Regions from separate parts of the Homo sapiens genome. Here region 1 is linked to region 2. The links are contacts of gene promoters, found by promoter capture Hi-C in blood cells and fetal thymus (Javierre and others, 2016). All regions are on one chromosome and are shown on one strand. The core of a region is centred on a gene start or on the middle of the fragment in contact, and the rest is flanking DNA. Distances in the headings are between cores, read along the strand shown.

Evidence for each region. Contacts are between HindIII fragments. The CHiCAGO score rates a contact against its expected background, and 5 or more counts as called.
Region 1: a fragment that was not itself captured here is called in contact with the fragment with the promoter of BMP4 in region 2 in 2 of 17 cell types (endothelial precursors and fetal thymus); the score reaches 11.3 in endothelial precursors.

Annotation. Positions count from the first base shown.
Region 1 is chr14:54,173,882-54,180,007 of GRCh38, forward strand. The region is part of intron 4 of LOC105370507 (a long non-coding RNA gene); the gene reads right to left. Among named protein-coding and RNA genes, the nearest start is that of CDKN3, 220 kb to the right of the region's middle. RefSeq lists a silencer at 4,010-4,304. The HindIII fragment of the contact is 1,103 bases long and covers 2,959-4,061 here.
Region 2 is chr14:53,953,306-53,959,610 of GRCh38, forward strand. BMP4 (bone morphogenetic protein 4) reads right to left here and starts at 3,520. Exons shown (of 4, transcript NM_001202.6): 1 at 3,245-3,520; 2 at 1-95. LOC124903317 reads left to right here and starts at 877. Exons shown (of 2, transcript XM_047432035.1): 1 at 877-3,023. The coding sequence starts at 2,596. RefSeq lists silencers at 235-304, 355-444, 2,644-2,753, 3,403-3,482 and promoters at 451-951, 1,123-2,418, 1,123-1,443, 3,346-5,464, 3,346-4,688. The HindIII fragment of the contact is 12,206 bases long and covers 1-6,305 here.

The DNA of each region.
Region 1 (6,126 bases), core at 2,260-4,759, 220 kb after region 2:
TGGCCTGGAGGCATCACTTGGTTCCCCCACCACAAGCCCAACCATGTGTTACTATATTAAAAAATGTGAAAAAGTAATTATGGGGTATGGGAGCCAGTGTCTGCAGACACAACCTGCCAAAGAGGAAGTGACAGGAAACTTATGCTCCTTGTTGCTGCTCAAGCACTGCCCAGGCTCCAGACTCAGAAGAAGGGAATCTGTTCCAAGAAATAGGAGAGAGGCCTGCCCTGGTGAATCAGAAATATCCCTGTTTCTGAATATACAGTAAACTGGTTTCCATTCCTGGGTCCCCTCAGTTGGTCAAACTTTCCAGTCACGTGGAGAGACCACTCACAGCATCCTCCCTCAGCAACTCAGCCAGATGGCTGCCTCAGCTCCCACCAGACCGGGCAGGCTAGAACATGTAAGGTTCTGAACTTGGGCAAGAGTCTAAGGTCACTATAACTGGCCCCTAAGACTCTGACCTGCCACTGTCAGATCTCAAGTTCTGCCACCTTATCCTAAATCTAGCTTTGTTGTTCCTCTTCCCACTTCCATCCCCAGTTCCTTGCCCTCAGGTAGGATGCGATAATCAATCTATTACTGATTTCTACAGCAGTCCTCCACATATTCACAAACCCCTCAGCTTTCCTCTGGAACAATGGACTCCACCAGCATAGGGACACAATTGTTTTCTACCGCTGGAGGCAGAGAGGAAAAGTAGCTCAAACATCTGCCCCCAGAGAGCATAAATTTGTCAGGGAGAGAAGTCCACATTTCTGCAGAAAGGCCAGTGTTCCCAAGAGGCCTTAGCTTAGGAAATGTTTATTGAGAGGAATTACATTTCCTTCTCAGGACCTGCCTCTGCCTCTGGTCTAAGCTACAAAAGAAGTTTTCTTCTGATGTCTCAGGAAAAAAGAAAAAAGCACCAACCCTCACAAAAGAACCCTGGTAGTATGGACAATTCCTACTATCTCAAGAAGATTTCACTTGGAAGTAAATAATCGTTGCCACCTCTGAATTCAATTTGATTACCTAGATAAATCACTACATGAACTTCCAAAGAAGCAAACTTTACCCCAAAAAGTATGTTATAAAAGTTGATTTACAGAAGTCTCTTTCAAATAAATTCTTAAAGAGAATCATAGACAACAAAGAATGCAGAAGCTAATGCAGGTCAAGAAAATGTCCTTACTATCTCTTTAATATAATAAAATAAATCAAATTAACATGTTTCCTTAGTGAATAATATTCTCTAAGCATGAAATGTAATTTTTAATACTTTATATACACCAGGCTTGAGTTCCTATTTTACATGCTATGGTTTTAGAATATGTGTAAATGTTTATTTCTAAAATTACCTAAAAATCTTCTGTTCAAGTTTGTTTTTCAACTCAGGGCAGTAGCATATAAGTAGAATTTAAGCAGATATCAATTGTATCACTGGAAAGACTTTAAAAATCAGAGAAATGTTCTTATAAGGCAAATCCATGGCAGCCTTCCACATTCAGAGACTGGTTTATAGCTTTCTGAGATGCCCTGTTAACCTCTCAAAGATCTGTAGACTAGCTTATATTATCTCATTATCCGAGTTCTCCCCGCTTTCATCTTTGCCTCCTATATCCCAGTTTCTTCACCACTGTAGTATCCACAGTGCCACCTGCTGGTTGTAGAAAGTATTTTTGTGGCTCCAAGGTCTCCCTCCGGGATTTGTTTAATTAAAGTCTACCAATGACTGCTAGAAAAGCCACAGCCATAGTGGACAAATCCATGAAATGAGCAAAATGTCAATTCATGAAGGGTTAACATGACCCAACATATGCTGAGGCAAAGTTTTGGCTATTTTAAAGGCAAACCTAAGTTGCCTGAGTTAAACCTAACACATGCAAATTTGCCTCAGGCAGCTTGGCAATAGGGCTCTGTGTAAGAATACAAAAAAAAAATGATTACCAAGACTAAATGCCTCAGAAAGTTTCCAAAATCCTTTATTTCCTCGTACCTGTCAATCCTAGACTTCCACTTTTTTTTTCTTTTCTTAGACAAGTATTTTCAACTTTCCAAAGGTATGAAATTTGCCATCTTAATTGTTTAGACAGGAATAAAGCATTAACTCAGTCCCTTGACTTTGATTCATAGCAGCTCTTCCTTCACCAAAAGTTACAGTCTCCCTCTCCACCCCAGCCTGAAGTCTGTGGACCAGCACAGAAATGACAGGCACCAGAGCATCTGCAGGCATGTGAAAATGCAGTGCTCCCTTCCCATACTTAACCTTTCAGATGGTTCAACTATTTCCCATGTGTCAACAATCGCCATTCGCATCTTAGGCCTTAACCAGGCAAAAGATAAGAGAGAATAACCTTTAGAACCCACAACTAGCCGGACGCGGTGGCTCATGCCTGTAATCCCAGCACTTTGGGAGGCCGAGGTGGGCGGATCACTTGAGGTCAGGAGTTTGAGATCAGCCTGGCCAACATGGTGAAACCCTGTCTCTACAGAAAAATACAAAAATTAGCCAGGTGTGGTGGTGCGTGATTGTAATCCCAGCTGCTTGGGAGGCTGAGGCAAGAGAATCACTTAAACCCAGGAGACTGAGGTTGCAGTGAGCTGAGATCGTGCCACTGCACTCCAGCCTGGGCAACAGAGCAAGACTCCGAAAAAAAAAATATATATATATATAAAGAAATAACTAACAACTAACGAATAAGAAGTCATTCCTGCAAGCCTCATCATGATGGGGTACAGTAAGGCACAGGGAAAATGTTTTTGCCTTAAGACTCCTGACAAGGATTAATCAACTTTTTTAACAATCCCCTGGGGTGTAGACTGGCACAGGGTCATTACCCCTCTTTAGCAGGTGGGCGAACTAAGATCCACAAAGTTTACCATTTCATCATCAATTCTGTTCAGAATATCATCAATTCGCTGACATTCTGATGCGACAGTGAAAAAAAGGTGCTGCAAGAAGCTTCTCAATAACTAAGCTTAATGCAGAAAATATACCCAAGTCAGGAGGTACAAATACACTGGACAAGTATTGACCCAACTCGTAGTCATTTTATCAGAACAGGTTATTTGAGAAACGTAGTCATTTTATCAGAACAGATTATTTGAGAAACGTAGATTCTCTACCTATGAATCTGCAAGATTTAGATTAGATTATAACTGAGTAATCATTTTTAAGAAATTATTGTGTCTATTGGCATTCAGTTGAGGGGGTTTCCTTTTTCTCTTCACTCTTCACTCACTCCCATTTAAAGGCTAAACATGGAACTGCAGATAGAGGACAGAGATCACAAATGTTCACCTTTAGCTCTATCTGGCACATTCTCCCATTTTAATTGTCTTTGCTTTTGTGTTCCCCTTTCTAAAAGTATAAACTATATCCTGACATTTTCCTGCCTTCTGCCAAATTCGGAAACTGTCACGTTTTCTTTTTTTCTTTTGGTCTATAAACTTCAAAATATTTTCTGTCAAGCTGGCAAAGCTCCAATCTGCCCTTCACCGCTGCAATTAAAGTGATTTTCCATCTGAATATAACCCTGACATGGAGAGGAATTATAAGAGTTCTATATAAATCTATTTTGATAGATTAGTTCCCTCACTGAGCATATTTTTGTACTCATCACAAGCATTTATACATATCCAGATTATTCTAAGAATTGTGAATCAAAATAAGAGCAGGGTTACTACTAAAAGGAAAAGCTGAATTTTGGGTCCCCCTTTAAAAGAAGCAATAACCTAGAAAGCAAAAAACAAAACAAAACCCAAAGAAATATTTTATTTATTTCACACAGATGTAACGAAATAACCTAAAACCATGGTAGAGCCAGATAAAGTCAAACCATACATACAACCTAGAGGAGATGGTGCAGCAGAGAATACTGTTATAAAGCATTATTCTTATGTCATCATGGCTTCCAGAAAATACTCAACGCTCCAATATTTGTCCACTTAATACAGGATTCACTTCTCAGCCGAGGAGGACCTTAGTAACAGTACACTTAGCACTCAGCAGTTATTTGACCTATTTTACTAATGTGTTTGGGAAGGAGGTTAATTAAAAGTGGATGGCTATATCCTTAAGCTTAATTTTTCCAACAGCCCTGCTCATAAAAGGAAAAATTTAGTATGTATTGAAGGAAGCAAGCAATTAAGTTGCACAAATAGTGAGCTCATTGAACTGCGGCTGACTTCTATCATGTCAAAGAACAACTAAACACAGAAGCAATAAAAAGATTGTTGCCACGACCACCACTGAGAACCGACTGGCAATAAAGATGAATAACTTCCTACTTGAAGATTACTGATTAAAGCTTTTTAGAAACCAAATGTTACACATAGGCATAAATGGAGCAAAATATTTTAATGCGTGTTTGGCAGGTTCAGAAACACTTTATAGTCAATTTTAAATGAAGGTTTATACAACAACAGTAAACTCCACTTAAAACAGCCTTTCCAATTGCTGCTGCTGCAAGAAAGCTGCAGTGCTCCTCAGGAAGGCTTGAGTCATAACTGTGGAATAAAAGTCCCATACCTAACAGTAAGGGGAGGGTCGATGGGGAGTGGAATTCCACAGGACCAAGTCCTCTGAAATCAAACCCAAGAGCAGAGCCAGAGAAGTCCATTCAGATGCCTGTGACCCTTGAAGGCAAGTAAACAGACTCCCTATAGCAATAACCAGGAAATCTCTCTCTCCCCGGCAGCCCTCTGCTCCTCTTCCCACCTCTCAAAGCTCCCAAAGGTCAAGTTTTAGCCCAACCTGCCCTTCAAGAAAGTGCACTCACATCTAGGAGTTCAACACAGGTTGGCATCAGAATTGGCTCCCAGGACTATCAGTGTCAGTGAGGTGGGACGGGCATGATTTGACAAGGAAAATGTGTCTGACAGAGGATTTGGCTCTCAACTTACAAGTGTATACGGAGGTGGGTGGAGAATATCAGCTTCTTTGAGGGCTGGACCCTACCACTTACCTGCTGCCTTTGGACGGGATACTATGGAGGGTTAAAAAAAAATAAAAAGACAAAAAGAGGAGGATTTTTGCCTTCAAGGTTGCTTATAACCTAACATTAAATAAATAAGTTGTCCTTTGCATTGCATTGCCCTCAAACTCACTACTGTGGAGAATTAAAACCAGCCTATTGCAAATAAACCAGTTTGCCATCCCATATCTATCCTTCTCCTCCTGCTAGCTCCATCTTAGAATGTCTCTAAAATGGGAGGGGGCTAAAAATACACTTTTCTTCTGACCACTTCCTCCTCAACTTGGGCTTTAAGGGATCAGAGTCCAGCAATGAGATGATGATATGCTTTTCCCTTTCCTGAGCTCCAACCCTTTACTCCTTCACTCAGATATGTCTGCAGTGAGCTCCTATGGGGCTTGTTTCTTCTTTCTGTACCACACAGCACCCATCAATGTGCTGGGTATTCTGTAGTTGTTTAGTATATGCTTTTTAGCTACCATCAGTGGGAAAGGCTTACCATATTTCTGCCCCTTTCAAAGATGTATTTTCTCTTAATCATTGCTGCTGCAATCATCAAAGTAATTGAAACTGGAGAAACGATTTTGTGTCATAACATGAAGGGAAAAAAGTAAAAAGCAAATGTAGTGTTCTCAACTTGCTTGGGTGGGAAATGGGACACAAAATGGTCTGAATAAATTGTTAATGCTCAGATAAAGCACACGGCACCTCAAATTTACACTCTAGTTGGATCGATCCACCCATTACATGCTATTTTCCAGAGATTCAGAGCTGAATTTGCTGTTTGGGATTTGTATTCAATGTGGGGAATTCTAACTGCAAATCAAATTCATACTGCAAACATCAGAATGGCTTTATCAGATGAGGAGTAGATATTTGGAATTTAATAACACTTCCCATCACCTTTCAAGAGGACTTGTCATTGAATATATGGTGTGCAAATCTGGTAAAGAAAAAAGAAGAGTTTGATTATTTGTACAAATTACATTTCATTTGCAGGAGGAAATCACAGTGGCACAAGTCCTTCCTTCCATTTAGGTTTCTCCACCTAGAAGTTGTACAGGGCCTTTCAGCTCCAGGCTCTCCATTAAGACATTCTAACACTATACACTAAAAGTCTGGAGATAGAATGAATTGTACAGCACAGGAAGGGGGGTGGAAGAAGAAA
Region 2 (6,305 bases), core at 2,270-4,769:
CATGATTCTTGACAGCCAATCTTGAACAAACTTGCTGGAAAGGCTCAGGGAAGCTGCAGCAGTGCGTTGCTCGGGATGGCACTACGGAATGGCTCCTAAAAGGAATATTTGAATATAATGAGACTCCACCGCAGACAGGCTCTGTTTTTCTTCCAGCCCCTCGGAGTCACGTGAGCGCCGAGGCCCCTCCCGCGGCAGGCGGCGAAAGGGCTTGCGCGCCCTCCCCTCCTCCACAGCCCCCCGCCCCTCGCGGGCCCGCCCCTCCAGGCGAGGCCAACCTCCGCGCCCGCCGCCCGAGCCTCAGCGGTCCGGGAGGAGCTCCCGGCGGCGCTCGGCAGAGCCCTCGGCCGGTGCCCCGCGGCCGCCGCGCTCCCAGGGCTACTGGCGCAGCGCACGGAGAACCCGGTTCTCGGCGCGGTGCGTCGTGCTGGGCCCCCGCGCCGGGCCACCTGAAGCCAGAGGATTTGGGGCGCACTGAAGGGACTGCGTCTCCCAGCTCGAACCCGGCTTAAGTGGGGCCGGGAGCGAGGTCGGGAAAGTCTCACCCGCCCAAAGCCTCACCACCGAGAGGCACTTAAAAAGGAAAGCGCAGAGGGACCCTGCCCACGCGCGTGTACACACACACCCCCCCACACACACACAAGCAAACACGAGCTCCCCGCCACTTCCTCCCCAGGGTCTCCTCAAGGCCAAATATTGCTCCCAATGACAGCCAGTCACCCCTTGGCGAACGCCTGCTAAGGCTCCGAAGAGCCGGGCCACCGATCTAGCTCCCGGCTGAAAGCAGCCGACCTTGTCACGCGCGGGGCCGGGAATGGGAGGGAGGGTGTTAGAGGGTGATCGCTGTGGGAAAGTGAGAGGGAGCGGCTGTTAGTCATTGCTCCGGGTCCATTACCGAGAATCCCCAAACCTAGTCCGCCGCTGCGTGGCCCCTCTCCCCATGCAAAGCAGACCCCCGAAGAAGCCATGCCAGGCTGAGGGACAGACGCCGGGGCTCGAAGCTCCGGGCAGATTCAGAAAGAGGCGTCGCTGCAGAAAGGACGCATCACAGTTTTCAGATCTTAATGTGGCCGAGGTTTTACAACTCCCGACCCGGCGCAGAAAGGAAATCCCACCATGTTCCCCGGAGTCGAGAAAACGGTGAACAGCTTTCGGCCTGCGCTCGACCTCTGCGTCTGCGTCTCTCTCGCCTCGGCTTCCCTTATTTTTTAAACCACCACCACACTCCTTCCCCCGCCACTTCCTTCCCCCACCCCCTTCCTCCGTTGCACCAGCAGCAGAGTCGCACGCAGCAAATACTCCTTCAAGAATTTTACCTACCTACAGTTCAAGCAGTTACTGGGATGTCCTGACTAATCGAAGATGCTGCCGCGCGCGTGGGTCGCTCTGCGCAAGGGCCTCTTCGAAAACCCGACTAGGCGCAACTCAGCGTTCAGCAGGGCCGGGAGCGCCAGGTCGTCCCCGGGGCCCGGGCCCCATGACTCCTGCCCCAAAGCCCACTCCACCCGACCTCCCTTTCCTGAGGCTGTTCCCAGTTGCTGCTTTGGGTCGCTCCGGAGCTCAAGAACTCGGGTTGCCTGCCGCCCCACTCTCCACGCACATACTTGGTTTTCTTCTTAGGGGCATTGGCAGGTAGACTTTGAGGAAGAAAAGTAAAGGATCGAACAGCTCAGCCCTCCCTCCCGACCGTGGATGCCCGGAGTCGACCAACACCTCAGGTCCGGGTGCGGAGGCCGCGGGCGCCCCTGCGCGACCGTCCGCGCCCGGCAAGAGCCGCGCGGCTTTCGCCTTTGCTGGTCCCGCGCCACCGCTGGGGCGGGCTGCGAAAGGGTTGGGAAGAGCAAAGGGTTTTTTTGTTTTGTTTTGAGACGCAGAAGCCCTTTAAAAAGCCCGGCGAGGAGAGGTCCAGAAGTAGAGAAAGCAGACGGAGGCAAGCTGTGCCCGCGGGGCAAAGGGACAGTAGAAGGGGCGGGCGCCCGGGTTCCCCGGAAAACCCTCGGCCCCAAGGAATCTCCTGGGGCGGGAGAGCGCGGTTCTAAAACCGAGAGGATAGGAAGGGGAAGGGGGAGTTGTGTTTCAATTTCGGATTCACCAGGATTCATCTCTAGTCACATTTTTCTTCTCAAATTTTTAAATCGAAAAGATAAAAGCCAAAAGAACTTTCATCCCCAGAGCTTTTTATTGGGGGAAAGGAATGTAACTCGGGGTGGTTGTCCTTCACTTCCCTACTCGAATCTTCTCCTAATGCCGAAATGTGTTTACAGGTAGCCTCAGTTTACCAAGTATGTATCTTTTGGGGGTTTAACCTCTCACAAAGCCTTCAACTCACAAACCGCGATCCTTGGAAACCATCCTCCAAAGCAGTGCTTGGAGGCCTCTAAGGCCCCCGGACCAACTCCCGCTGGAAGAAGCCTGCAGGGACTCGGGAATCACGGGAACCTTTCCCGTCGGTTCCGGGCCTGGAGGGCCAGGAAGAGCCGCGCGTCCGCCTTTCGTCCCGCCAGGAACTCCCCATAGGACACGACACCGCAGGAACAAGCGTCCTGGGAGCCCCTGGGATCTTGGCTGTCGTCTCTAGGGACCCTACACCGTGAAATGATAGAGGCGAGGTTCCTTGGGTTCCGCAAGTCGACGAAAATAGCTCGTGGAGAAGGCGCGTCCTGCAACTGCAGTTCGCAAGCTCTCAGGGCGCCCCGCCAGCTGGGGGCCAGATTGGGTGACACTCCCCTCGACGCAGCCTCCGGAGCGGCGCGCACTCTCCAGAGGCCAGCAGGACTGCGCTCTCTACCGCAGAACCTGCTCCAGCTAGGTGTTCTCTCCCCATCTCGCCGTCGCTCTGCCCCCTCACTCTCTCTGGACCTCAGAGCCGGTTCTCTCCTTCCTCCTCCCGCGCTTTCCGTCCGGGGATCGCAACCTCCAGCCCGTGGGCAACGCGTTCAGCCCAAGACCCCACAGTTTTTCCCAACGACCCCCCTACCAAGGGCTTCTCTTGTTTCTGCTCTCCTGCCCCGCACTTCCCAAAGGTGAGAATCTCCCAGGGACTGCTGGACAGAGAAGGCCTGGGCAGGGGCAGTAGCCGATATTTAAAGGTCTTTCAGCGCCAGCATCCCCACCTCCAGCACCACTATTGGAAAATAATTAGGCCACCTTTTGCCTCGGTCACAGCCTGTGACCAGCTTCTTCCCCCCAAGGAGGCTCCTAGACCCCCTCTGCCTGTCTCCCCTCACCAGGTAGCCTTGCTCACCATAGGTCCCTGCAGTAGCGGGCTCGCCAGCAGCAGCTCCTGGGGACCTCTGAACGGTTGCAGTGAACCTGGGCGAGGGCCGGGGACTGTGGCGCTGCAGGCTCGAGATAGCTTGGACGGGAATCCCATCGGGGAGACAAGCTAGATACTCAGCCGGAGCAGCAGCGGCGTCTCAGGCTCGCGTCCCTCAGCTCGGATGCCACACTCACCTAGCTTCCGGGCCGGGCTCCGCGCTCCTTCCCTCCCTCCCTCCTCCTCTGCCTTCTCGCATCTTCCTTCCTCCTCTTTCCCTCCCTCGCTTTCTTTCTTTCCTTCCTCCTCCTCTTCCCCGGCGGCCCCTCCCTCCTTCCCTCCTCCCTCGCTCGCCTCCCTTTCTGGGGATGGGAGCCCCGCCCACATCCTCCCCTCCAGCCGCCCGACCTCGCCTAGCAGGCCCGGGTCCCGGAAGCCCAGGCAGCGCCCGAGTCCGCAGCTGCCGTCGGAGCTGGGACGCCGCTGCCTCCAGCTCTGGGAAGCGGCTGGGGCTCACCTGGGGACCACGTGCGGAGGTACTAGAAAGCATGCACCGACTAGTCGCCGTACCTTCCAAAAATACCCATGGGAGTCTGGGCTTCCCTGAGTTTAGTGTAACTGCTGCCCAAACTGATGATTAAAACACTGAGTAATCACCATTTACCCTGAGTAATTAGAGATAATGAAACACCTCTAAAATCAGGTTATGGAGAAAGGAGCTGTTGGATCGGTTTAAAAGGTGGCCTTCCATAAACTGTTAAAAGATTTCCAAACGTTGAGAAACAGGCTGTGTGCAGAACTGTGTGCCAGAGAGAGATACCTCTTGGGCTGTTAAAAGGTGAATTTCCTTCCAAAACATTCTTAAAGTGCGTTTTGTAGAACACCTTGGTGATGACCCTGAGGTAGACCCCAGTAAATGAGCTCACTTCCCTCCTCCCCCCAAGGCCTAAAGACAGAGGTGGCCTGCAGACAGGCTGGGGCCACGTTTTTTACAGTTAGAAAAATCTGTTTCTAGCTCAGAAGCCGTCTTAAGAACCGACACAGCAGTTATTTTTGTTGGTGTTATGGTTGTTGTTGATTTTTTTGTTCATTTTTGGTGTACCTAAGAGTCCTGACACTCTGTCTTTCCAAGGAGATAACCACAGAAGCAGTAACCTTTTAGGCCACAGGGAGACAAGAAAAGATGCCCCTTGGTCTGTTTTTAAAGGAAGAGGGGAGATGAGGAATTGGCCCTTTCATATAAAAACATTTTAGTAATCATATTAGCAGGGAGGTGGAATGTGGTGGCTTTTAAACCTTCCCAAACAGGAACTAATTTCACACACTGCCTCTGATGGAGCTGTGAGGGAGCTATCAGCCTCATCTCTCTGTTTTACAAACAAGGAAAGGCAGGACTACCAGGTTAAAGGGACTTGCCCAGATCTCTGAAGTAAATCACAGCCTCTGCTCCAGAGCTAATGCTTCAGGGAGGGGTTGAGGCTCATAGCCTGAGCTCCAGGTAGCCAGAGGAGTGCTGGAAGACTGAGCATTTCCTGTCCTGGATTTCTTTCCCTGGGACAGACATGACACTTTACTGTCTCTGCAAAGCATTTAGGTCTTTACTTAAACAGATATTGGCCCTGGGTGGCTCATCTATAAAAACTTTACGTTTATACACCTTCGATATTTAAAAAACAAGAACTACTTCCTGTGTGGAACACAGATTACAAAGGGTGGGAAATATCTGAGATCAGAGAAGCAACTGTCAGAGCAAGGCCAAGACATCCTGCCATCTTTTCCATCTATTAGGCCTAGGTCTTTTGGCCTAATGCACCAAACAACAGAAACAAGCTGTATGGCTTTGGGCAAGTCTTTTCATTCCTATGAGTCTCAGTTTTCTCATCTGCAGAATGAAAGGATTGGGCCAGATCATCTGCATGCTCCCTTTATATTTGAAAATGATTTGATTATTTAATTGTAATTTTAGCCAAAGTCCGTCTTCCTTCATTTTAAGTCACTCCTGAGTTCACTTTCTCTAAGAACCACTGATTAAAACAGGGCAGGGCAATAACACCACCCCAAAAGGAGGACAAAATATACCTGTAGCTTCCAAATAGTCAAAATCACAATTAATTATTAAAAATAATAACAGAAAATTAAAACTCCATTAAATAGTTACCTAATGTTTCTCCTGCAGCATCAGGCATTGTGCTCCTTTAGCATGGTACCTGAAGTCAGGACAGATTAAATGCTCACTGAGCCCCTAAATCAATCACTGTTGTTTTAATCATTAACGAAATGTGGTTCTTAATATTTAAACTCAGAAACAACAGTGATATGCTGGACTTAAAGGCAGGACTTTATTTTACTTTAAAGCACCAATGTCATTTCGGGGTTTTTTTAATTCCAAAGGTTTTTGAATGACAGCTATTGTCTCATTTTGCTGCAGCCCAGACACTAAAGTGGCCACTGATTGGCCCATCCATGAGTCTGTGACACTCACAGTCCAGGAGTTTCCAATTAAGCTACCCGACATACCATGTTTAGACCCCTGATATGAATCTTCAGATATATGACGAGAGAACTCAGCTTTAGTTCTCTTGGGACAGCTTTATTTCTCTCCCCACATTTTAGATGGGCGCAAGCCATCTGTTATCAGCTGCTTTTACCCACTCCTCCTTTTCCCCCCTTACTCATGCCAAAGAACAAATTACTTGTTGGTTAGAGAGCTAAATCAACCACAGCCTAGTGATCAGAGTTCGTGAGAAGAATCAGTTTAGTTATTTTCTGTATCTCAAACTTACCTGTGAATTTTCATGTTTTTATAGAACATGGTAGATAGACCAAATGAAACTGTACCCTTAAAGCACATTGATGAAGAGGGGAAACCCACCATAATTCAGGAGCAACTATTGCTCCTATGCTGCTACTACTCAATGAAAGGCATTCCTTTGTTGGGTTTTTCCTGGAGAACATCAAGAAAGAGTAGCTGGTCAATAGCCTGTCTGCGAGCCCTTGGGACAGCCTTTTTCAAAGCATGTTCTCAGGACTATAAGCCTCAGAGTAGGGT